Linked DNA regions of Homo sapiens: all the other regions are linked to region 5. Evidence: promoter capture Hi-C in human tissues and cell types (Jung and others, 2019). All regions are on one chromosome and are shown on one strand. The core of a region is centred on a gene start or on the middle of the fragment in contact, and the rest is flanking DNA. Distances in the headings are between cores, read along the strand shown. Region 1 overlaps TPX2 (TPX2 microtubule nucleation factor). Region 2 overlaps ASXL1 (ASXL transcriptional regulator 1). Region 3 has its middle 15 kb from the start of MYLK2. Region 4 overlaps ASXL1 (ASXL transcriptional regulator 1). Region 5 holds the start of TM9SF4 (transmembrane 9 superfamily member 4).

The links. The method cuts DNA at HindIII sites, captures the fragments that hold promoters and counts their contacts. A contact is called where the count stands out against the background at its distance.
Region 1: a fragment that was not itself captured here is called in contact with the fragment with the promoter of TM9SF4 in region 5 in 1 of the 25 tissues and cell types used here (lymphoblastoid cells).
Region 2: a contact is called between a fragment that was not itself captured here and the fragment with the promoter of TM9SF4 in region 5, in 1 of the 25 tissues and cell types used here (lymphoblastoid cells).
Region 3: a contact is called between a fragment that was not itself captured here and the fragment with the promoter of TM9SF4 in region 5, in 1 of the 25 tissues and cell types used here (mesenchymal stem cells).
Region 4: a fragment that was not itself captured here is called in contact with the fragment with the promoter of TM9SF4 in region 5 in 2 of the 25 tissues and cell types used here (mesenchymal stem cells and small bowel).

What each region holds. Positions count from the first base shown.
Region 1 is chr20:31,746,106-31,750,297 of GRCh38, reverse strand. The region is part of intron 2 of TPX2 (TPX2 microtubule nucleation factor); the gene reads right to left. Among named protein-coding and RNA genes, the nearest start is that of TPX2, 8.9 kb to the right of the region's middle. The HindIII fragment of the contact is 3,114 bases long and covers 27-3,140 here.
Region 2 is chr20:32,393,828-32,398,254 of GRCh38, reverse strand. All of the region lies in intron 4 of ASXL1 (ASXL transcriptional regulator 1), which reads right to left. Among named protein-coding and RNA genes, the nearest start is that of ASXL1, 38 kb to the right of the region's middle. The HindIII fragment of the contact is 9,568 bases long and covers 1-4,427 here.
Region 3 is chr20:31,801,835-31,806,360 of GRCh38, reverse strand. No RefSeq gene overlaps it. Among named protein-coding and RNA genes, the nearest start is that of MYLK2, 15 kb to the left of the region's middle. The HindIII fragment of the contact is 6,356 bases long and covers 1-4,497 here.
Region 4 is chr20:32,427,507-32,432,186 of GRCh38, reverse strand. It overlaps ASXL1 (ASXL transcriptional regulator 1), which reads right to left. Exons shown (of 13, transcript NM_015338.6): 5 at 3,939-4,059; 6 at 3,765-3,862; 7 at 2,756-2,849; 8 at 2,134-2,286; 9 at 703-866; 10 at 508-604. Among named protein-coding and RNA genes, the nearest start is that of ASXL1, 72 kb to the right of the region's middle. The HindIII fragment of the contact is 7,689 bases long and covers 1-4,680 here.
Region 5 is chr20:32,107,290-32,111,408 of GRCh38, reverse strand. TM9SF4 (transmembrane 9 superfamily member 4) reads right to left here and starts at 1,695. Exons shown (of 18, transcript NM_014742.4): 1 at 1,654-1,695. The coding sequence starts at 1,668. RefSeq lists enhancers at 689-1,431, 1,595-1,774, 1,432-2,176, 1,179-2,378. The HindIII fragment of the contact is 9,910 bases long and covers 1-4,119 here.

The DNA.
Region 1 (4,192 bases), core at 334-2,833, 360 kb after region 5:
TAATCCCAGCTACTTGGGAGACTGAGGCAGGAGAATTGCTTGAACCTGGGGGGTGGAGGTTGCAGTGAGCCAAGATCGCACCATCGCACTCCAGCCGGGGCAACAAGAGCGAAACTCCGTCTCAAAAAAAAAAAAGAAATCGAGACCATCCTGGCCAACATGGTGAAACCCTGTCTCTACTAAAAACACAAAATTAGCTGGGCATCGTGGCATGCGCCTGTAGTCCCAGCTACTCGGGAGGCAGAGGCAGGAGAATAGCTTGAACCCGGGAGGAGGAGGTTCCAGTGAGCCAAGATCGTGCCACTGCACTCCAGCCTGGCAACAGAGTAAGACTCCATCTCAAAAATATAATAATAATTAATTTAAAAAATTAAAAATAAACAAATAATAAGATTTCTATATAGAACTAAAAATGATTCCTGGGGCATTGACTTAATAAAAGGGTATATAAATTTGAAAAAGTTAAAAATAAAAACAGCTATTAACTTTTTTCTTTTTTTTTGAGACAGAGTTTCACTCTTGTCGCCCAGGCTGGAATGCAGTGGCACAATCTTGGCTCACTGCAACCTCTGGCTCACGGGTTCATGTGATTCTCCTGCCTCAGCCTCCTGAGTAGCTGGGATTACAGGCACCTGCCACCATGCCCAACTAATTTTTTGTATTTTTAGTAGACGGGGTTTCACCATGTTGGCCAGGCTGGTCTTGAACTCCTGACCTCAAGTGATCCACCCGCCTCAGCCTCCCAAACTGCTGGGATTACTAGCGTAAGCCACCGTGCCCGGCCAACAGCTATTACTTAATGAGCACTTATGACATGCCAGACACTGTTGACAGTGTCTTACATGTATTAACTCACTAAATCCTCACAATAATCCTATAAAGTAGGTACTGTTATTATCTTCATTCTATACTGAGGGACTTGAGGCACAGAGAGATTTACTACTTATTCACAGTCATGCAGCTAAGAAGCAGTAAAGCCAGGATTCCAAATGGAATAGACACCGAAGGTGGTGTTCTTATCCACTGCCTATTTATTTAAAAATAGACATTTAAGCTGGGCGCGGTGGCTCACGCCTGTAATCCCAGCACTTTGGGAGGCCGAGGCGGGTGGATCATGAGGTCAAGAGATTGAGACCATCCTGGCTAACACAGTGAAACCCCGTCTCTACTAAAAATACAAAAAAATTAGCCAGGCGTGGTGGTGGATGCCTGTAGTCCCAGCTACTCGGGAGGCTGAGGCAGGAGAATGGCGTGAACCCAGGAGGCGGAGGTTGCAGTGAGCCGAGATCGCGCCACTGCACTCCAGCCTGGGCAACAAAGCAAGACTCTGTCTCAAAAAAAAAAAAAAAAATTCACATTTAAATAGATAAATAACAAATGTCATGGAGCAAGAGATAATAACTTCCAAATACTGTCTACTGTAGGCCAGGCACCTTACCAGACACTTCACATAAATCATCTCGTTTAAACTGCATTAACAATATAGACAATAGATAGATGTCTTTATAAATAAATGCTACCATCACCATTTTATAAACAAGGAAACAAGCTCAGAGAAGTTACACTATTCCAAGATCACCAAACTAATACATAGCAGTGTTGAGTTTTAAAAGAACAAGTCTGCAGGATTCCAAAATCTGGGGTCTCTCTAATGCACAAGTTTTCCTATAAACATTGCTTCAAAAAGGAGGTAGGTAATCAAATCATAAGATCCTGTTCAACAAAGACAAATCCTGCCCTTTATGAAAACTAAGCATCCCTGATATGCTCATAAAGAAAACTTTAGCAAATTACAAATCCTGTTATAAATATATTTGGAAAGCTCTGATCTGAATCTTCCCATAAATTTTTTAAAAAATCCATTGATTCCTCTTTTTTTAAGTATACTTTTCCATATGAAGTTTTTCCTCTATATAAGATGGTGGTTAGTGAAAACCTCAGTGATATTCTAGAGTAAAGAGACTATGAAGAGGGTTCAAGCAGCAGAAGAAAGGCTGTCCTCTGAGGTCTAAGACTACATTTGATTAGTGGGGAACAAACGGCGAGGGGTGCAAACCTAAGTACACTTAATCTTTAGGTGAAATTTTAAAAACAAAATATTATTTTCCTAACATGACCTGTTCTTTAAAAAAGCTTCTTTTAAGCTATATTTTGGTCTAGAATGGCCAACTCAGGAGACCATCCCCTCTCCCTGGAAAAAGAGAATAAATAAATACATATCCATTGAGAAGTCTGACTCTCTTCAATTAAGGCTGATAGGACAAGTACATCAAGAAAACGAAAAGCTAACTACTGGGTAATTTCGGTTTCACGACACTACCTCCCCCAGAAATAATAAATATGAGGATGTGAAATCTTCCAAAATTAAAGTCCACAGGGCCTAGTGGGAAATGGAACAGGCCAGAGCCAAAGGCAGCTGTTTAAATGAGAGAGCCCCAGGCATGGTGGGAACTGGATGCCTTCCTGCGTCCCTTAATCAAGATTGAATTTCTGTCAACAGGTCTCACCAAAAAAAAAAAAAAAAAAAAGGCACATGCGTCAACCACATTCCCCCAAACAAATCAAGTTGCCAAGCAAGAGAATCAGCTTCACATTTCAAAATTATCTGAATCTACCACAGCTTCAGATTCTTGCAAAACTAGAAATATTCTGCATGGAAAAATAGCTATTAATGACCAATATTCCTACAAAGACCCAAGGAAAAAGCCTATCCTGTATGCTATGAACCAATTAGGTTCCTCTAAAAACTGCCTATTCAATGCCATCCATCGTGTCTTATAGCCCATTTTTGTTTCCAAAAAGCGAAGACTAAAACGATAGATAGATAGATAGATAGACAGACAGACAGACAGACAGACAGAGATAGAGATATAAAATCTCGGCCGGGCACAGTGACTTATGCCTGTAATCCCAGTACTTTGGGAGGCCAAGGCAGGCGGATCACGAAGTCAGGAGTTCGAGATCAGCCAGGCCAACATGGTGAAACCCGTCTCTACTAAAAATACAAAAATTAGCGGGCGTGGTGGGTACGTGCCTTTAATCCCAGCTACTCGGGAGGCTGAGGCAGGAAAATAGCTTGAACCCAGGAGGTGGAGGCTGCAGTGAGCCGAGATTGCACCGCTGCACTCCAGCCTGGGACAGAGCGAGACTCCTTCTCAAACAACAACAACAAAAAAAAATCTCTTCCCTCCAAGAACGCACAATTGAATGGGGGAATGCAAACAATTACAATATAGGGCTATCCTTGCTGCAAGAGGGCATTAACAGAGAGCGCTCTGGAAGTGCAGAGAAGGAGAACAGCATAAAAGAGGATCAGAGATGGTTTCCTGATGTAAAAAATACTTAAAAGATACAGACAGACCTGCGGAGTTCTACAAGCTAAGAATGAACGTTGACTTTTTCTAGGGTAAGAGATAAATGGAAGGGGAAGACAAATACAAATTAGGAAGATTGCAGACAAAGCAATGTAACCTGTTCCCACATTCATCTGAAATTAACCTCCCATTGCCTCCCATCTTTCTTCACTCTCAAACCAAAAATAACTAGTCTTGACAAGCTCTATAAATCAAAAGGTGCAGGTTCAGACCGGGTTGGGGAAAGCTGCAAGAGGGTGCATTCTAAGCAGGGTGAAATAGGGGACTACCAGCTCCTGAGCAAAACAAAGACTTTGGTGTGACAGATGCTCTCAAACACCTTGCTATCCAGTCAGTGAGATATGACTTGCCTATTTCTATTAAAGAGAAAGTCATGAGTTAAACTGGTAATATAATAGAATAAACAGAGTAAGACAAGACTTCATTAGAAGTATAGTTAGTTAAGATGGTCCCATCCCAGGCAGTGCCATTTCTCCAGGGACATCCTCTCCTACTTTCACAAGGGATAAGAGATCCTGTTACATTACCACAAGTAAAATAGAGTGGAGTTACTTTCATCTTACCCAGAGAGAAAACACCTACATTTTTTTCTTGTATATAAGGGATTAGCAGCAGTCAGTAAATGGCAACATAATCCAGCATGCAATTTTAACTGTTAATCAAAGTCACAAACTAAGTCTGAAGGAAGTTTAATGGACTTTGTGTTTCCACATTTATGTTTGCTAACTTCTATGTTGAAATTGGATCTGTTTACAGAAACAGATCTATGAAGCTTCCAAAATTGGGTCAATTTAAAATCCAATGACAATCCCTCACTG
Region 2 (4,427 bases), core at 1,657-4,156, 290 kb before region 5:
GTGAGACTCCATCTCAGAAAATATATATAAAATTAAAAAAATAAAATGGTTAATTTTGTTATGTGAATTTCATCTCAATTTTTAAAAGAGAAACAACCTATTGATTCATTTAACAACATGAATGAATTTTAAATGTATTTTTCTAAGGAAAGAAACCACACCCAAAAGGATACATAACAATAACTTTATAACAGTGTTTTAACTAGATACTATAAGGCTACAAACGAACCGATCTATACGTAAATACCCTACTACAATTGGTAAATTTGTTTCACATCTAAGGAAACATGACAACTAAATGCAATGTGGTATTCTGACCGTGTACTGTAACAGAAAGATAACAGTGGAAAAACTGATGAAATGCAAAGACATTACAGGCGTGAGCCAAGGCACTTGGCCTATAACTTTTAAACTTATGTCCCAGAGCAAGTTTGTCCAACCTGCGGCCAGCAGGTCGCACACAGCCCAGGACAGCTTTCAATGCGGCCCAACGCAAACTTTGTAAACTTTCGATGCTGCCCAATACTAATTCATAAACTTTTCTTAAAACACAATTGGCTTGGCATGGTGGCTCACGCCTGCAATTCCAGCAGCATTTGGGAGGCCCAGGTGGGTGCATCACTTGAGGTCAGGAGTTCACCAGCCTGGCCAATATGGTGAAACCTGCCTCTACTAAAAATACAAAAAACTAGCTGGGAGTGGTGGCACACACCTGTAATCCCAGCTACTCGGGAGGGTGAGGCAGGAGAACTGCTTGAACCCGGGAGGCAGTGGCTGCAGCGAGCCGAGATCATGCCACTGCACTCCAGCCTGGGTGACAAAGTGAGACTCCATCTCAAAAAAAAAAAAAAAAAAGGCCAGGAGTGGTGGCTCACACCTGTAATCCCAACACCTTAGGAGGCCAAGGCAGGTGAATTACAAGGTCAAGAGTTCGAGACCAGACTGGCCAACATGATGAAACCCCATCTCTACCAAAAAAAAAAAAAAAAAAAAAAAAAAAAAAAGCCAGGCATGGTCGCTCACCCCACAAAAAAAAAAAAAAAAAGGCCAGGCATGGGGGCTTACCCCTTTAATCCCAGCTACTCGGGAGGCTGAGGCAGGAGAACTGCTTGAACCTGGTAGGCGGAGGTTGCAGTGAGCCGAGATCACACTACTGCACTCCAGCCTGAGCAACAGAGCATGACTTCATCTCGGGAAAAAGAAAAATACAGGGAAAAAAAAAAAAAGCCACAGTGAGTTTTTTTTGTTTGTTTTTTTTTTTTGCAATGTTTAATTTTTAGCTATTCAGCTATCATTAGTGTATTTTATGTGTGGCCCAAGACAATTCTTCTTCTAATGTGGCCCAGGGAAGCCAAAAGATTGGATACCACTGTTCAGAGTTATTTCAAAATGAACACATAAAAAATGCTAACTTAGTAAGCAGTATGTGACCTCATGTATAAACAAATATGTATACTGAGAGAGAATGAGAGTTTGAGCTCAAAAAAATTTTTTATATTACTATTAGGGGAATAATTTTTTAAGTGAATCCTACTGCTGTAGGCACTGAAAAGCAATACAGTGACAATATCAGAATTGTGCTTTAGAATTATTCTGACAGTAGTCTGTACACTGCATTAGAGACAGAAAAAGTCTGGGAACCAGAGTGCCAATTAAGAAGCTAATGCAACAGTTAGGGAAGAGGTAATTACTCCCTAACTAAGAATGTTACGAATATAAGGAAAAAGATTGTTACAGATTAAATAAGAATAAATAAAGAGGGAAATAAGAAAACATGTATATCTGTATACCCTTACAAAAATAAACACAGAAAGGATACGCCCCACCTAACAAAGCTAAAAAGCAAGCCTCAAAAGAATTAGTTTCCAGCTAACTCATCTGCACTCCAGAACAAATCTCAAAAATACCAACATGAATACAAAAATATCCACAACCCAAAGTGAAATTCACAATGTCTTTCATCTAAACAGAATTTATTAGGATTGCAAAGAACTGGGAAATCTGACCCATAATGACAAGAAAAATAGAATACATAAAAACAGACCCAAAGATGATATAGAGACAGAATCAGAAGAGATTATGAAAAGTTATTATATTTCACATGTTCAACATTGAGCACGTTAAGCAGAGAAATATAAGATGTTTTTTAAGAAACAAACCAGGTGTGGTCGCTCATTCCTGTAATCCCAGCACTCTAGGAGGCTGAGGCAGGTGGATCACCTGAAGTCAGGGGTTTGAGACCAGCCTGGCAAACATGGTGAAGCTCTGTCTCTACTAAAAATACAAAAACTAGCCAGACATGGTGATGCATGCCTGTAATCACAGCTACTTGGGAGGCTGAGGCAGGATAATCGCTTGAACCTGGGAAGCGGAGGTTGCAGCGAGCCAAGATCATGCCACTGCACTTCAGCCTGGGTGACAGAATGAGACTCCGTCTCAAAAAAAAGAAAAAAACTGAATTTTTAAGGATAAAAGGTATAATTCTGGATAAGAGTAACAGATTTAACATGGGAAAGATAAAGACTAGTGAAATGAAGATCAGTAGAAACTACCCAAAACAAAGAGAATCAAATGACTAAAAAACATAACAGTGCATCAGTGAGTTGTATGACTACTTCAAGCAGCCAAATATACATGTAATTACAGACTCCAGATGCGGTGGGGAAGTACAAAAGAAAAATATTTCAAGAAATAGTAGCTGAATACGTAAATTTCATCCATGAAGCTCAAGAGAATTCAAACACAAGAAATATGACGCAAACTACAACAAAGTATATAATAAACACATTGCTGAAAAAGCAGTGATAAAAAGAAAATCTTAAAAATTAACCAAAAAAGGCAAAAAAGATAAATTTGCTCGCTGAAGAACAAAGATTAAAATAACAACAGATTTTACAGGAGAAATAATGCAAGCTAGAGACAGTGGAGCAACATCTTTAAAGTACACAATGAAAAAAACCTGTCAACCTAGAATTCTGTATCAAAGGAATATATCTTTCTAAAAACAAGAGGAAGTACTTTTTCAAACACACCAAAGCTTAAAGATATCACCAGCAGACCTACACTACAAGAAACACATTAAAGGAAGTCCTCTGGCAGAAAGAAAATCTGAACTGACGAGAAAAAACTGAAGAAAATCTGGCAGATGAGAATCTGGAACCGCTCATAGGCAATAAAGAACACCAGAAATGGAAAACATATAAAGTAAAAGACATTTTTTCTTACTTTTAAAATCTTTTTAGGCCAGGCATGGTGGCTCATGCCTGTAATCCCAGCACTTTGGGAGGCCAAGACAGGCGGATCACTGGAGCTCAGGAGTTCGAGACCTGCTGGGCCAACGTGGCAAAACCCCATCTCTACTAATAATACAAAAATCAGCCAGGCATGATGGGGCGCACCTGTAATCCCAGCTACTCAGGAGGCTGAGGCATAAGAATCACTTGAACCCAGGAGGCAGAGGCTGCAGTAAGCCAAGATTGCACCACTGCACTGTAGCCTGGGCAACCGAGTGAGACTCCGTCTCAAAAAAAAAAAAATTGTTTTAAAAAAATTGACTACTTAAATGAAAAATAATAATGTATTGTGGAGTTTACAACATATGTAAAAGTGAAGTGTATGACAAACATAGCACAAAGTCTGAAGGGAAAATGAAGTGTACTGCTATAAGGTTCTTGTAATATAGGTGAAGTGGTATAATATTAAAGACTGAGTTTCACAAGCTGAACTCAATAAACACTAAAGCAGCCACTAAAATAACAAAGTACTAATGAGCCAAGAAAGGACTTAAAAATGAACCACTAAAAAATCCTCAATCCAGGCCAGGCATGGCGTAGCTCACTCCTGTAATGCCAGCACTTTGGGAGGCCAAGGGCAGGGATCACTTGAGGTCAGGAATTCGAGACCTGCTTGGCCAACATGGCAAAAGCCCATCTCTACTAAAAATACAAAAATTAGGCCAGGCACGGTGGCTCACGCCTGTAATCCCAGCACTTTGGGAGGCCAAGGCGGGCAGATCACAAGGTCAGGAATTTGAGACCAGCCTGGCCAATATAGTGAAACCCTGTCTCTACTAAAAATACAAAACATTAGCTGGGTGTGGTGATGGGCGCCTGTAATACCAGCTACTTGGGAGGCTGAGGCAGGAGTATCGCTTGAACCCAGGAGGCGGAGATTGCAGTGAGCCGAGATCGCGCCACTGCACTCCAGCCCAGGTGACAGTGCGAGACTCTGTCTCAAACCAAAAAAAAAAAAAAAAAAATAGCCAGGTGTGGTGGCACGCACCTGTAATCCCAGCTACTTGGGAGGCTGAGACAGGAAAACTGCTTGAACCCAGGAGGCAAAGGTTACAGTGAGTTGAGATTGCACCACTGCACTCCAGCCTAGACGACAGAGTGACAGTCCATCTTAAAAAAACAAAAACGAAAAAA
Region 3 (4,526 bases), core at 70-2,569, 300 kb after region 5:
AAGAGGCTTCATACTTGTCAGGAAGGAAGCCAGGACATGCCTGAGGTGGCACCTGAACTACATCTTTAAAATGCACAACATGTATGAAAAAACCAAGGTACAGAGTGTAAAGTATGATGCTATTTGTGTAAAAAAATAAGAGAAGGAGGGTAGGTAGGAGTATGTATAGGAAGAAACAGTCTCTGCAAGGGAACTTAAGAAACTGGCAGCACTATCTCTGGGGAGGGGAGCTGAGCAGTTGGGAAGAAAAGGCAGGAGGAAGACTCTACGTTTGTATCTTTTCAATTCAGAACTATGTGAATGTATAACCTTTTAAAGAACAAATTAAAATTTTTAAAAATGCATAATGCTACTACTATCTTATTTCTTTTAAAAAAAATGCTCTATGTGTGTGCTCAGAGAAAACATTCTGGAAGAATCCTATTGCGAACCATGGGTTACACTGGGACGTGGGAGTAGGGGAAGGAAGGAGACTTTCGTGTTTTATTTCATACAGTTAGTAGCATTTTACTTGTTTCCAAAAGGCAGTACTACTTTTGCAAATTTTACTTTAAAAAAAAAAAAAAAAACCTTTACAAACTGCAACCTCACTTTCAAAAACAATCCCTAAACTCCCACAGCACTCTGTCTCACATTACTGAATCACATCCCATCTTGTGTTACGATTATTCGTGTCCAGGTCTCATCTCTGTTAAATGCTGGAGCAACTGCAACTTTGTTCTGTCTACCATGCTGGCTCCACTTCCCAGGGACAAGACTCTAGAAAAAAGACCTGGTAAGGAATAAAACAATCAAAATGGTAACCAAGCAATTACACAGGACAAAACAATCAACCAAAGCTAAGAGTGAGCAGTAATCTTATACATATATTAATTAGTACAAGAATATCGCTGGGCGTTGTGGCTCACGCCTGTAATCCCAGCACTTTGGGAGGCCGAGTCAGGCAGATCACCTGAGATCGGGAGTTCAAGACCAGCCTGACCAACATGGAGAAACCCCCTCTCTACTAAAAATACAAAATTAGCCAGGTGCATGCCTGTAATCCCAGCTACTCGGGAGGCTGAGGCAGAATTGCTTGAACCTGCAAGGCAGAGGTTGCAGTGAGCTGACAACACGCCACTGCACTCCAGCCTGGGTGACAACAGCAAAACCCCGTTTCAAAAAAAAAAAAATATCAGCAATAGGAAATCATGGCCAAGTTAAAAATGCACTGAAAACAAAGCAGCATGCTTCCCAGATTTCCCAGAATTCCCAGGAATTCTGACAATCTGCATGTGTGTATGTGCTAGGAGCTTTGCAAAATAGCCAAGCAAAGGCCAGGCATGGTGGCTCACACTTGTAATCCCAGCACTTTGGGAGGCTGAGGTGGGCAGATCCCTTGAGGTCAGGAGCTCGAGACCAGCCTGGACAAAATGGCGAAATCCCGTCTCTACTAAAAATACAAAAATTAGCTTGGTGTGGTGGCATGTGCCTGTAATCCCAGCTACTCAGGAGGCTGAGGCAGGAGAATCGCTTGGAGGCAGAGGTTGCAGTGAGCCAAGACAGTGCCACTGCAGTCCAGCCTGGGTGACAGAGCGAGATCTCCCAAAAAAAAAAAAAAAAAAAGGCGAGCAAAAAGTAGCAGCTAAATTCTTAAAATTCAGTAAATTCTTATCTCAGGATATGTTCTTTATTTAGGAAAATTCCTGAGTGACCTGAGTGTGGAAAGATGATGCTCCTATTAGCACATGGCCTGAAGGGATGAATAAAATAATTTTTCTGTAAAATGCAAGCAGAAAGTTTGAGTTTCTGGGAAAAATGGGAGAGTGTGCTAGAAAAATGAAGGTGATGTGCGGTGGTCCAGAAAAAGAGGGCTCAGTACTAGGCAAGAGACCATGTGGTGGAGGAAAAGATTGCCCCTGGGAAACTGAGAAATTTTGGGAAGCAAGAGGCACTGAATGTTGACATCTCAGTGTTAAGCTACTTTCTCTAAAGTAATGTAACTCCTCTTTGTGGCCTCTAACAGACTGTCACTTATTACCACTGACATGAGTTTGCACAGGGGATTATCCAGAATGGAGCAAATGGGGCAGAAGGATCCCTCACATCCATAATTCTCAGTAACACTCCCAAAACCCTCAATCTGAGGGCCGGATTTATTCCCCTGCCTGAAACAACAACGAACAAAACCAGACAAGGTATATGAAAAAATGATTCCAGATGGAAATACATGAATGATAGTGATAGAGGAGAAATGCTGATACCAGTAGAGAGAAAATCTACAAAGAACAGACACAGAGATCAAGAGATAAGCAGAAGTGGAAAAAAACAAGAGGAAATCAGAAAAAAAATGAATGCTGCTGTGAACCCACAAGAAATAAAAGGACTAGGGTAGAACTGGATTTCTCACAGTACAAGGGATGGACCCTGTCTCTGTTTGGGGCTGACACCTGGGTGCCCTCTATAAGAAAGAAAGGTGCCCACCTTTCTTTCACTCTCCAAATCCAATCTGTTAGGAAGTCTTGTTAGTTACAACTTTAAAACACATTCAGAACCCAACCACTTCTCCTCTCTGCCACTGCTACCACCCTAACCCAAGTCACTGTCAGCTCTCACCTGCACAACAGCCGAGAACCTCCTCGCCTTCCCAATTACAATTTCACATGCCCCCGACTCCCAACCCATCTATTCACATAGCAGTCAGCACGTCTGTCACCTTACACAAGAGCTTAAATTATTTGCTTACTGTCTCTCTCTCCTACTAAAATGTTAGCTCCATGAAGGCAAGGTCTTTTTTTTTGTTCATTGACGTATTCCCAGAGACTAGAACAGTGCTAAGGTATACACAGTCATCCCTCAGTATCCGTGGAGAATTGGTTCCAGGACACCCCTTCATTCTCCACTCTTCACGCATCAGTTTATGGGGGTTCAGGAGGACCAGGATCTGCAAATCATACTGTGAGAAACACCATCTTGCTTTGTCAATTAATGCTGGGACTACAATGACTTGTACATAAGAGATTCATATATGCTCACTGAATAAAAAAATGAATATAAAATAAGTTTCAGGTCATATATGGTACCTAGGACTAGCCTGGGCAGAATCCAGATGCTTTTGTATCTCCTAGCACACGCAATGAATGATAGAGTTGATACTCAAAAATGATGTGAATTCTAAAAGAAAATATATTGTTTAACATGGACCTAAGCCAATTCTGTGCCAGCCACAATAAACAAGAGATGGCTATGGCAATTCTTGTCTTCAAGGAACTTACATATCTGTATCTCTATTAATTTGTGAACAAGTTCAAGTAACTCAGATATAGTATAACTGCTCTACTCGAGATGTATACAAGAAACATTTACGAGTCACAGCCAGGCGCGGTGGCTCATGCCTGTAATCCCAGCACTTTAGGAGGCCGAGGCGGACGGATCACGAAGTCAGGAGATCGAGACCATCCTGGCTAACACAGTGAAACCCCATCTCTACTAAAAACACAAAAAATTAGCTGGGTGTGGTCACGGGCACCTGTAGTCCCAGCTACTCGGGAGGCTGAGGCAGGAGAATGGCGTGAACCTGAGTGGCGGAGCTTGCAGTGAGCCAAGATCACGCCACTGCACTCCAGCCTGGGCGACAGAGTGAAACTCCGTCTCAAAAAAAGAGAAACATTTGGGAGTCACAAAGAAGGAAGTGACCATCTTTACTGAGGAGGTCAGAGGTCAAGGAAAGATTTCTAAAAAAGATTTAACTTAGGCCGGGCGCGGTGGCTAACACCTGTAATCCCAGCACTTTGGGAGGCCAAGGTGGGTGGATCACTTGAGGTCAGGAGTTGGAGATCAGCCTGGCTAACATGGTGAAACCCCATCTCTACTAAAAATAGAAAAATTAGCCAGGCATGGTGGCACACACCTGTAATCCCAGCTACTTGGGAGGCTGAGGCAGAATCGTTTGAACCCAGGAGGCGGGAGGCTGCAGTGAGCAGAGATTGTGCCACTGCTCTCCAGCCTAGGTGACAGAGCGAGACTCCATCTCAAAAAAAAAATTTAACTTGAGCTGAGTCTTTAGGGAAGAAGGTACAGTCTGTGTGAAGGCATAACATACATGATTAAGTGGTTACTGAGAGAGAGTTAACAGAATATGGAGATATTCTGACATAAGACAGAAAAAAATTACAAAGTACTGTCCTGGGCCGGGCATGGTGGCTCACGCCTGTAATCCCAGCACTTTGGGAGGCCGAGGCGGGTGGATCACAAGGTCAGGAGATCGAGACCATCCTGGCTAACACGGTGAAACCCTGTCTCTACTTAAAATACAAAAAAAATAATTAGCCGGGAATGATGGCGGGCGCCTGTAATCCCAGCTACTCGGGAGGCTGAGGCAGGAGAATGGCGTGAACCCAGGAGGCAGAGCTTACAGTGAGAAGAGATCGCACCACTGCACTCCAGCCTGGGCGACAGAGCGAGACTCCATCTCAAAAAAAAAAAGTTCCTGGACCCACCTCTCAAACTACCCATTTCCCAATAAGATGTGACCTCCAAAGGGGCTT
Region 4 (4,680 bases), core at 1,137-3,636, 320 kb before region 5:
TTCTTCTGCTGTAATAAACCGCAGCCCTGTACATATAACTATATGCTGAGTCCTGCTAGCAAATCATCAAACCTAGGGGTGTTCTTAGAGCCCTCTCAACACTTTCCCCACAAAATTAAATTAATAGAAGCTAACAATCACTCCAAGTGACAATGCCTAAAAAGACAGAGCATGGTGGAGCTTCTCAACTCCACAGTGTACTTTCCTCCACCCTTCCAGACCATGCCATGATTACTGGAATAGGTGTTTATAGTTTTAATGATAAAAAGGAGATGATGAATGAGTACATACATACAATATAGTGAAAGTCTAAACCTAAACACCCTGTTATTTCTTCAGAGCTGTGTGGCATATTAATACCCACCACATTTATTAGTAATGAGGAAAGCCTGTCTTATACTAAATAACCCTTTGAGAAGAGCGAGCTTGGGTTTTAAATACCAGGAGACATGCAACACCACACGACAGGTGCGTCGCAAGCCGTCCGAGATGACCAAGTCTACATACCATCAGCCAGGCGCTCCCGCCAGCTCTGAGCCGCATGGGTAAAAAACTCGTTATTTAGTGCACTGCTGCTGAGACGCAACAGGCCATCCGTCCCCACCTAGAAGGATCAAGGGGGAAAAAAATCCTAATAAATAAACTTAAAAGAGAACAGAAGCCCACCCAGAGAGAGGCAAAGGGGAGGCTGCCCATGTGCACCTGTCTGTCTACTTCAGGCAGGAGGAAGAGGAGCTGCTGCTGGAAGTGTGATGGTAAGGCATGGAAGGTCCGAGAGTTGATCAGGGCACGGAGGTTGGTGTTGACAAGAATGGACCCAGGTGTCTCAAAATCTATTTCTTCCCCTCTGTTGCGCTTCATTTGACCTATGATTTTTGAAGCAAGGTATAGATTTCAGCTTTTTAAAAGAAAAAACAAATGCCAACTGATGGGAAAACTTTGGTGACAGCACCCAAGCTACCCAGGAGTTATCTGCACACAATCTGCTCAATTGTCCAGTCCATCCTAACCTGTATATTCTTTCCAGGTTACTGTCATTGCCATCAAACCCAGGAGAACACTTGGGGTTGCATCTCCTCAGACAAAACTCTGTACCGTGCTGTGTCACAGCCTGAAAAGGACACTTCCCACAGAAAATCAGGCAAGGGGCAGGTTCTGAGCTTCCCTCCAAAGCTGGAGAACAGGCTCCACAAAGCTCAACTGGAGAAATCATGAGAATTATCTAAAAGTAAATCTAGTTAGTATACTATAGAAAAATCTGCAGAAGCCTTCTGTGAATGGGCTGGAGAGGGATGATCTCCATGCAGAAATGTACTAAGGACTGTTCAAAGCCAACTGAGATGCTAATACCTCTCACAGAAGCCTCAGCAAATGTTACTTTTATCTGAAAAACTCACTAGGACTAGAGACCTGTGAGACCTTAGATTGAGCACTGCTGATGAGCTGGAAAAGCAGCAAGACAGCAAACCTAGTTCTCACATGGGCAAAGGTTTACTCTAATTCTCAGAAGCAAAAGCTTGTCTTCTTAATGGTTTCATCTACAAAAAAAACCAGCATGTGGGTCATTAAGAATTAAATCCTGAAATAGCAAAGAGCATACTAATATTGCAAATAACCCTAATGGGGGTGGGGTGGGGTGAGGGGTGGGAGGTATAGATAATAGCACTACTGAATTTGTTTGCATCCCCAAAATTCAACACATGCTTCCACTCAACATACTGACTAGGTTGTAAAAAAGGGAGCGTCTGATACAGACTACAGATGTTGGGAACAAATGTGGCAACATGCTACCGAAGAGAGAAAAGGGGTGTTGGAATTCTTCACTGAGAAGCTCAGAAGCAGTTTTCACTCACTCAAACACTTACTATGCAGTACAAGGCAGGCATAGACTAGGCCTACAGGGACATACGAGAAACAGTATGGCATCATCTCTGCCTGAAAGGAGTTCTCACAGTTTAGCAGAGAGCTACAAATGAAATAAGCAAATTACAAAGTAAAAATAAACAAAAAATAGAGGGCCACCCAAGAAGTAAAAATAAACTGGTAAAGGAATTGGAATAGAAGACATCATCTTCTCACTAGGCCTGCAGGGGCCCCCTTTACAGGCAGAGAAATAAGTGCCACGCCACTCACCTGTGGCTGGCTTCCGGAAGCCTCTCAGGAGCGGGGCAGGGTCCTGGGTGACCTCGGCCTGGCCACGAATAGCAGCGCTGCCCAGGGCCAGAGAGCCGCTGCTGCTGCTGGACGGGCTGCCGCTCTCGCCATCGGCGTGGCAGCCCGAGAACCCTGAAGGCACAGCATTCCACTGGTCAAAAGTATCACCAAGCCGCGCCCATGGCTCTCAGACAAGCTCATTTCTCCCAGCTCTCCCTGAGATGCTGCCAGCAATACTGGGATGCTTCCATCTCCCAGCCTTAGGCTGAGAGAAACCACCACTTCATGGTCTGGCTTTAAAATATCACCTTACAGGTGCCAAACTGCCATCTTTATTTGTATAGCACTACACCTTTTACAAAGCACTGGCATAATCAAATCCTCCGTTGGATCCTCACGACTGCCCTGGGAGACAAAGAGGAAGGCACACAGCAGAGCCCAGCACTAGAACCTATGGCAGGCCTCATCCATTGGCAGGGCTCTTGCCTGTGGCCCGACAGCTCTCCTAGTATCGCACTATTAGGTCAGAAACTGCTGACAGAGGGAGGCCAGGTCCCCAGGACCTGAGGAAAAAGCATCACAACCATGAGTTTACACATACCTGATGCAGATTCCACGTGGGCCCCGTTTACCTTCAGAGGAGTCAGGACAACTCGAGGCAGCATCACCCCAGTCTTTTTCTTTTGTTTGTTCGCCTGCGTTCCAAGAGAGAACAAAAGAGAGCCCAAGTCAACTGCAGAGCCACAAAAGCATTCCCTGGCGACACTATCTCTACTCACGCTCTTGTAAAATGAAGTTCGTCTTCAACCAGATCTGTCAAATAATGCTGACAAGAGCACTGGTTAATGTTACTGAGCTACGTGCTGGTCACTGTGCCAAGCATCATTCCAAGCTACAAAAATGTACTGTTATCCCCATTTTACAGGTAAGGAATTTTCCCCAAGTCTCAAGGCTAGTAAGTGCAGGGTTATCATTCAAACTGCTCACTCCCAATCTCCTGTTCTCTCTACTCTGCACTAACCACACTTCTCCCTGAATGTTCACGTGTATATTACAAGAATGAACAGAATCAGGCTAGGCATGGTGACTCACACCTGTAATCCCAGCACTTTGGGAGGCTGAGGTGGACAGACCACTTGAGGTCAGGAATTCGAGACTAGCCTGGCCAACATGGCAAAACCCTATCTCTACTAAAAATACAAATATTAGCCAGGCACGGTGGTACGTGCCTGTAATCCCAGCTACTCGGGAGGCTGAGGCAGGAGAATTGCTTGAACCCCAGAGGCAGAGGTTGCAGTAAGCGGAGATCATGCCACTGCACTCCAGCCTGAGCGACAGGCGCGACTCCATCTCAAAAAAAAAAAAAAAAAAAAAAAAAAAGAATGAACAAAATCACTCAGCCAAGGTAAAGAAAGAGAAAAAACTTACTCTGCTCAAACCTACTGTTCACTTTTCCTGCGGCCCCCTGTTAAATGCTACTAACAGCTGGAGACCAGACTTCTATTCTTCACTCTCTGAACATGTTCACAGCTCACTACAGGAGAAGGAGGGATCTTGCCTTATACCTGTCATCATTCATCCTCCCAGGCTAGGCTCTACCTCTTCCTTACCTGTGAGGAAGCTCTGTAGCTGTCCCTGGGATTGGAAAGAGGTCGACTCTGAGATTCTGTAGAACAGGATGCGTTCGAAGATGTTTCATCAAGAGATACTGGAAGAGAGGAAAATAAAGGTTAGTCCCTAGTGCCTGCTGTGGCTCCCTCACCCATCCATTAAAGGGTCCTTACCATCGTTTTCACCACTCACAGTGCTGGCTTCATTAGACCCACAGCTCTCCACATCAGCCGTGTCCTCTGGCTCCTCTCCCTCCACTGTAGCTGGATGGCGAGACCACTGCAGGGCATCCTTCTGTGACAGCAAGGTACAACTCAGGTGAACAAAACCCTACAAATTCTTAAAGCAAGGCAGTCATTCCTAAATGTGTATGCTTTTGAAAAAGAGGGATTTAGAATACTGACAAGTTCCTAACCCTTTCTAACTGACCTTTTTCTCAGCAAGTTCTTTTCATAAATATATCATTAAGAAAGTTAGATACACTTTTGCATTCAAACATTCATTAAACATTTATAGGGTGCCTCCTATAAGCTATACCATGTTAGTTCTGGGGAGGGTGGAGTGCTAAGGAGCAGGAATCAAGGCCCTGCTCTCAAGGAGCTCAAATAAGTAGGGGGGTCAATTAAACTGATTACAATACAAAGTACAGTACATAGGTGAACATGGAGAGCCGTGGCAGCCCAGAAGAGGGGCACCTAACTTCAATGAGTTGAGCGAAAGACGGCATGGAGGTGAATAACGATCAGGGAAGTAACACATCCAAAAGGATGTGTTGCTTAAGCTGGGTTTTAAAATAAATTAGCAACTAGACAGACAGGTTGGCAGTAGAGAGATTGTAGGAAGTTTCTAGATAGTGGGATGAGCAAATGTGAAAGAATATTCCAAACTCAGGGAAACTAGGGCTGTGGGGAACTC
Region 5 (4,119 bases), core at 446-2,945:
TCTTAAAAATCTCTGAACAAGGCAGGGATTTCCCAGTGCAGTGCCGTAAATACCACTTTACTCAATGTTTTCCTTATAGCAAGAGAGGGTGTGATTTCCTTTTAAGTTCTTACACTATCTCTGTTCTGAATGTGGTACCAGAATATATATACATATATGTAGGTTTCAACATACTACTTTGAGGATTTGCCCCACTCGTGGTTCAGCCTGAAGTCTGAAACCACAGAAACCAGGTAAGGCCATGAAATCTTTTTACCTGACCTCTGAAGTTCTAAATAAGGAATCCCTCATTAAACAAAGGTAAGTTCTCAGTCAGCTAAGAGAAGGAGGGAAAATTGCTACCAGTCAATAATATATCCCTGTTTGGAGAAAACCAACACCAAATTATTTAAGCCAGAATCTTCCTTTGCTAAAGTCAAATGTCATTTCCTTTTCTCTGAGTCTTCCTTGTCATTCACTCCCCGGACGAAATTATCTGCTGAGGAGGCAGTATGCAGGAAGACCCAGGAAATCATTCTGGACTAAGTGACTTCAATTTTAGTTCTGGTCTCTTGACAAGCAGAATTTGAACTAAACTTTTAGAAAAAGGGCCAGTCCTTCAAAGATTTACTTCCAAGGTTCTGCACCAGGAGCCCGCAAGCTCTGACCCAACTTCCAAGCATGGCTATTTTACCTCCACCCTCATCCACACACAGACTTCATCCCAACATATAGCTTCATAATAAAGAGCCTTCATCCCTAACGAGCTGTGTGGCCATGTTGGGGAATGGGAAGGAGAGCAGTGAGGTGGGGCTATTAGTGTTTTTCAAAACGTAGTTCACAGACCACCTCCACTATATAATCACTAGAGTGCTTATAAAAGGGCAGATTCCTGGGCATCACCTAGCCCTATGGAATTAGAATCTCTGGGAGTGGGGCTGCTCAGGAAACTGCATTTTTAGCATGCCTCCCCCTACACACCTCGAGATTCTTATGCACAGTAAAGTTTGAGAACCAACAGGGTAAAAGGTCCCTAAGAGAGGGGCAGGGAGTTGACTGAGAGAAGACAGGAAGGGCAGGGAAGCCTCTAGGGATGAAAGATGGGGGTGGGGTAGGTGAAGGCAAGCTCTGGGGTAGCGGCAGTCAAGGGGGTGCGCGATGGGGACAGCTATGAGTGTAAGTGAGGACAGGGCTCTGAAAAGGATCTGAGGCAGCGCTTGGGCTGGGAGGGTGGTCAGAGGAGAGGTCACATCTGCGGACTGGTTATGATGGTGGGGAGGCGGGGAGAGCAGGGTCTGGACGTGACGGGGAGGAGCAAGGATGAGAATAACGGGAGGGGGTCTTCAGAGGGGTCAGGACAGGGAGGTGAGAAATGGAAAATGGGGCTCACAGTGGGCGGAGACCAAAAGTAGAATGGGAACCGGCGAAGGCAGCAGCCGAGGTCTTCCTCCGAAACGGCGCCTCCCCCAAAACTCGGGGCCTTCACAAGCCTGAGTGCAGGGGCAGGGCCAGGGAGGTGGATTTCGGGGAAGACAAGCCCAGTCAGAGGTAGCCCTCAGGCCTGAGTCAGGGGTCCCGGAGGTGGCTCAGGGCCAGGCATGGGGTGCTGGAAGATCCTGGGATACCCCGGAGGGCCCCGCTCCAGCTCCCGCTCCCGGAGTCTCCTTCACTCACCATCGCCGTCGCCATCTTGGATCCACGTGTCGCCGTAATGACGTCAGCGGAAGTGGTGCTCCCTGGTTACGGAGTTTAACTCCACAAGGTGGTCGTCTGGCTTCAACCGCTCCTGTAGTGGCGGTCAGCAGAGGGGAAAAGGAGTCTTAGCTCCTGCTCGACAGTCTGGTCTGGGAAAGTAAGGTCGCTGATTAGGTGAAGAGAGAGAACGGTGTAACTAAGGAAGCCATATTAGCTCCTGGCAGAAACTGAGCCTCCCTTATTCCCGCTGCATTGTGGGTAATGGGGGTGTGCGAAAGTGCGCTCGTGCTCTCAGCGCCATCTTTACTACTGGCAGGAAGACCCATTGCCAGGGTTACCTGAGACCTTGATTTGAGGGAAAGGGTGGGCACTGGGGCTCCAAGAGCAGTACGACTCCAAGAATAATTTGTAATTATATATTTAAGTATTTGTTTGATTTTAAGTATTTGTTTGACTATCCTATATCCTCTTTAGTAGACTGTAATCCCCATGAGGGTGGACCCTGTTTTTTTGTTTGTTCGTTTTTTACCTTGCTCTTCCTCATTCCCATCTGTGAAATGGGAAGGGGGTTGGTTCATCATAGGCTTGTGATGAGGATTCAGTGACACAGTATTACATAGGATGTATTCAATAAATAATTGTCAGTATATGTTTATGTATACTCCTTTGGGCTTGTGGTAGATGCCCAATACATTATTTTTTAAATGAACGAGTGAAAACCAGCATATTCAGTGGAGGGAGATATCTCTGAATGTGGACGTCATGCACTAGCTTAGTGTGTGACTCCAGACAAGTCACGCAATCTTCCTAAGCCTCAGTTTCCAAATCTGTGAAAAAGAGACTCAAAGAATCATGGTATTAAGGTTGGGAAAGAACTCAAAGTTCATTTGACCCATGTATATCACTTTAAACTGAATACAGTACCAGTGCTATCTTAGACTGTTTTAAAAAAGCTATTAAAAGAATAATAATGATTAATAATAATCATCAGCACTTGCCGAGCATTTTGTGTGCTGCAGCACTTAGCATTATGCTAACAGTTCATTAGACTCTTTTTATCTAATTCTAGGGGGCAAGGGACAGTTGAACTCTGATCCCCACCTATGGGCACCACTGTGGTGGATTTTCTGCAAAGATGGCTGCCACGTAGTTCTGTCCGTCCTTGCATGATGAGCATACGGTTTCTCTCCTCAAGAGATAGACTCTGTTTTACCTCCTGTTGAATCTGGCTGGTCATGTTGGTTGCTTTGACCAATAGGATGTGCTACAAGTGATTCTGCCAGTACTGAGCCTAGGCCTTAAGAGGATTGAAAACGTCTGATTCTACCTTCTTGGTTATAAAGAAGTGTAGCTACTCTGCTGGAAAGGCACCTGGAGAGAGAGGGAGGCCCAGCCAACTCCTCAAGACATTCTAGAAACTACAGCTAAGCACTATAATATGTAACTGAAGTCATCTTGGACATTCCAACCCCCACTGAGCTACTAGCTGAATGCAGCTACATGAATAACCTCATGAACACCATGTGGACCAAAAGAACTGCCCAGCTAAGCCCAGCTTTAGAGTGGGGTGGTTTATTATAGATCATTTCAGTAATAGATCATTGAAACACACACCCATTAACTCTTGTGACCTGCACAACCATCCTGAAGATTGGCAGATTGGCTATTAACCCCAAGGAGGAGGAAGCTTGAGAGACTAGGGGGAATTTGCTGCAGTCTCATAGTTTCCAGACTTGGAACCAGTTTTCCTAGAGCTTCGATCCTGAGTGTTTCCCACCATTTCTAGCTGCCTGAAGAAAGATAACTGATAAGGAGCAAAGCTCCATAAATGGCCTATTATTTTTTAGTATTTCCATTTTTTTTCTCATGCTTTGTATTTTTCCCTAAAGGCCTTTCATATCCCAATCTCTTTTGGTGACATATGCCAGAATCCTAGAACTAGACTGCCTGGGTTCAGAACGCATTTCCACCACTCATTAGCTCCATAACATGGGCAAGTTTCTCTTTTTTTTCTGAAAAAAATTTTTTTTGAGATGGAGTCTCACTCTGTTGCCGAGGCTGGAGTGCAGTGGCGCAATCTCAGTTCACTGTAACCTCTGACTCCCGGATTCGAACAATTATCTTGCCTCAGCCTCCTGAGTAGCTGGGATTACAGGTGCATGCCACCAAGCCCGGCTGAGTTTTTGTATTTTTAGTAGAGATGGGGTTTCGCCATGTTGGCCAGGTTGGTCTAGAACTCCTGACCTCGAGTGATCTGCCTGCCTTGGCCTCCCAAAGGGCTGGGATTACAGGTGTGAGCCACTGGACCCGGCCTAAATATTTTTCATTGTTGTAAAATATGCATAACTAAATATTGACTATTTTAATCATTTTTAAGTGCACAAATCAGTGAAATCAACTACATTCACAAAGTTGTCAATCATTACCGTCATCCGTCTCCAGAAC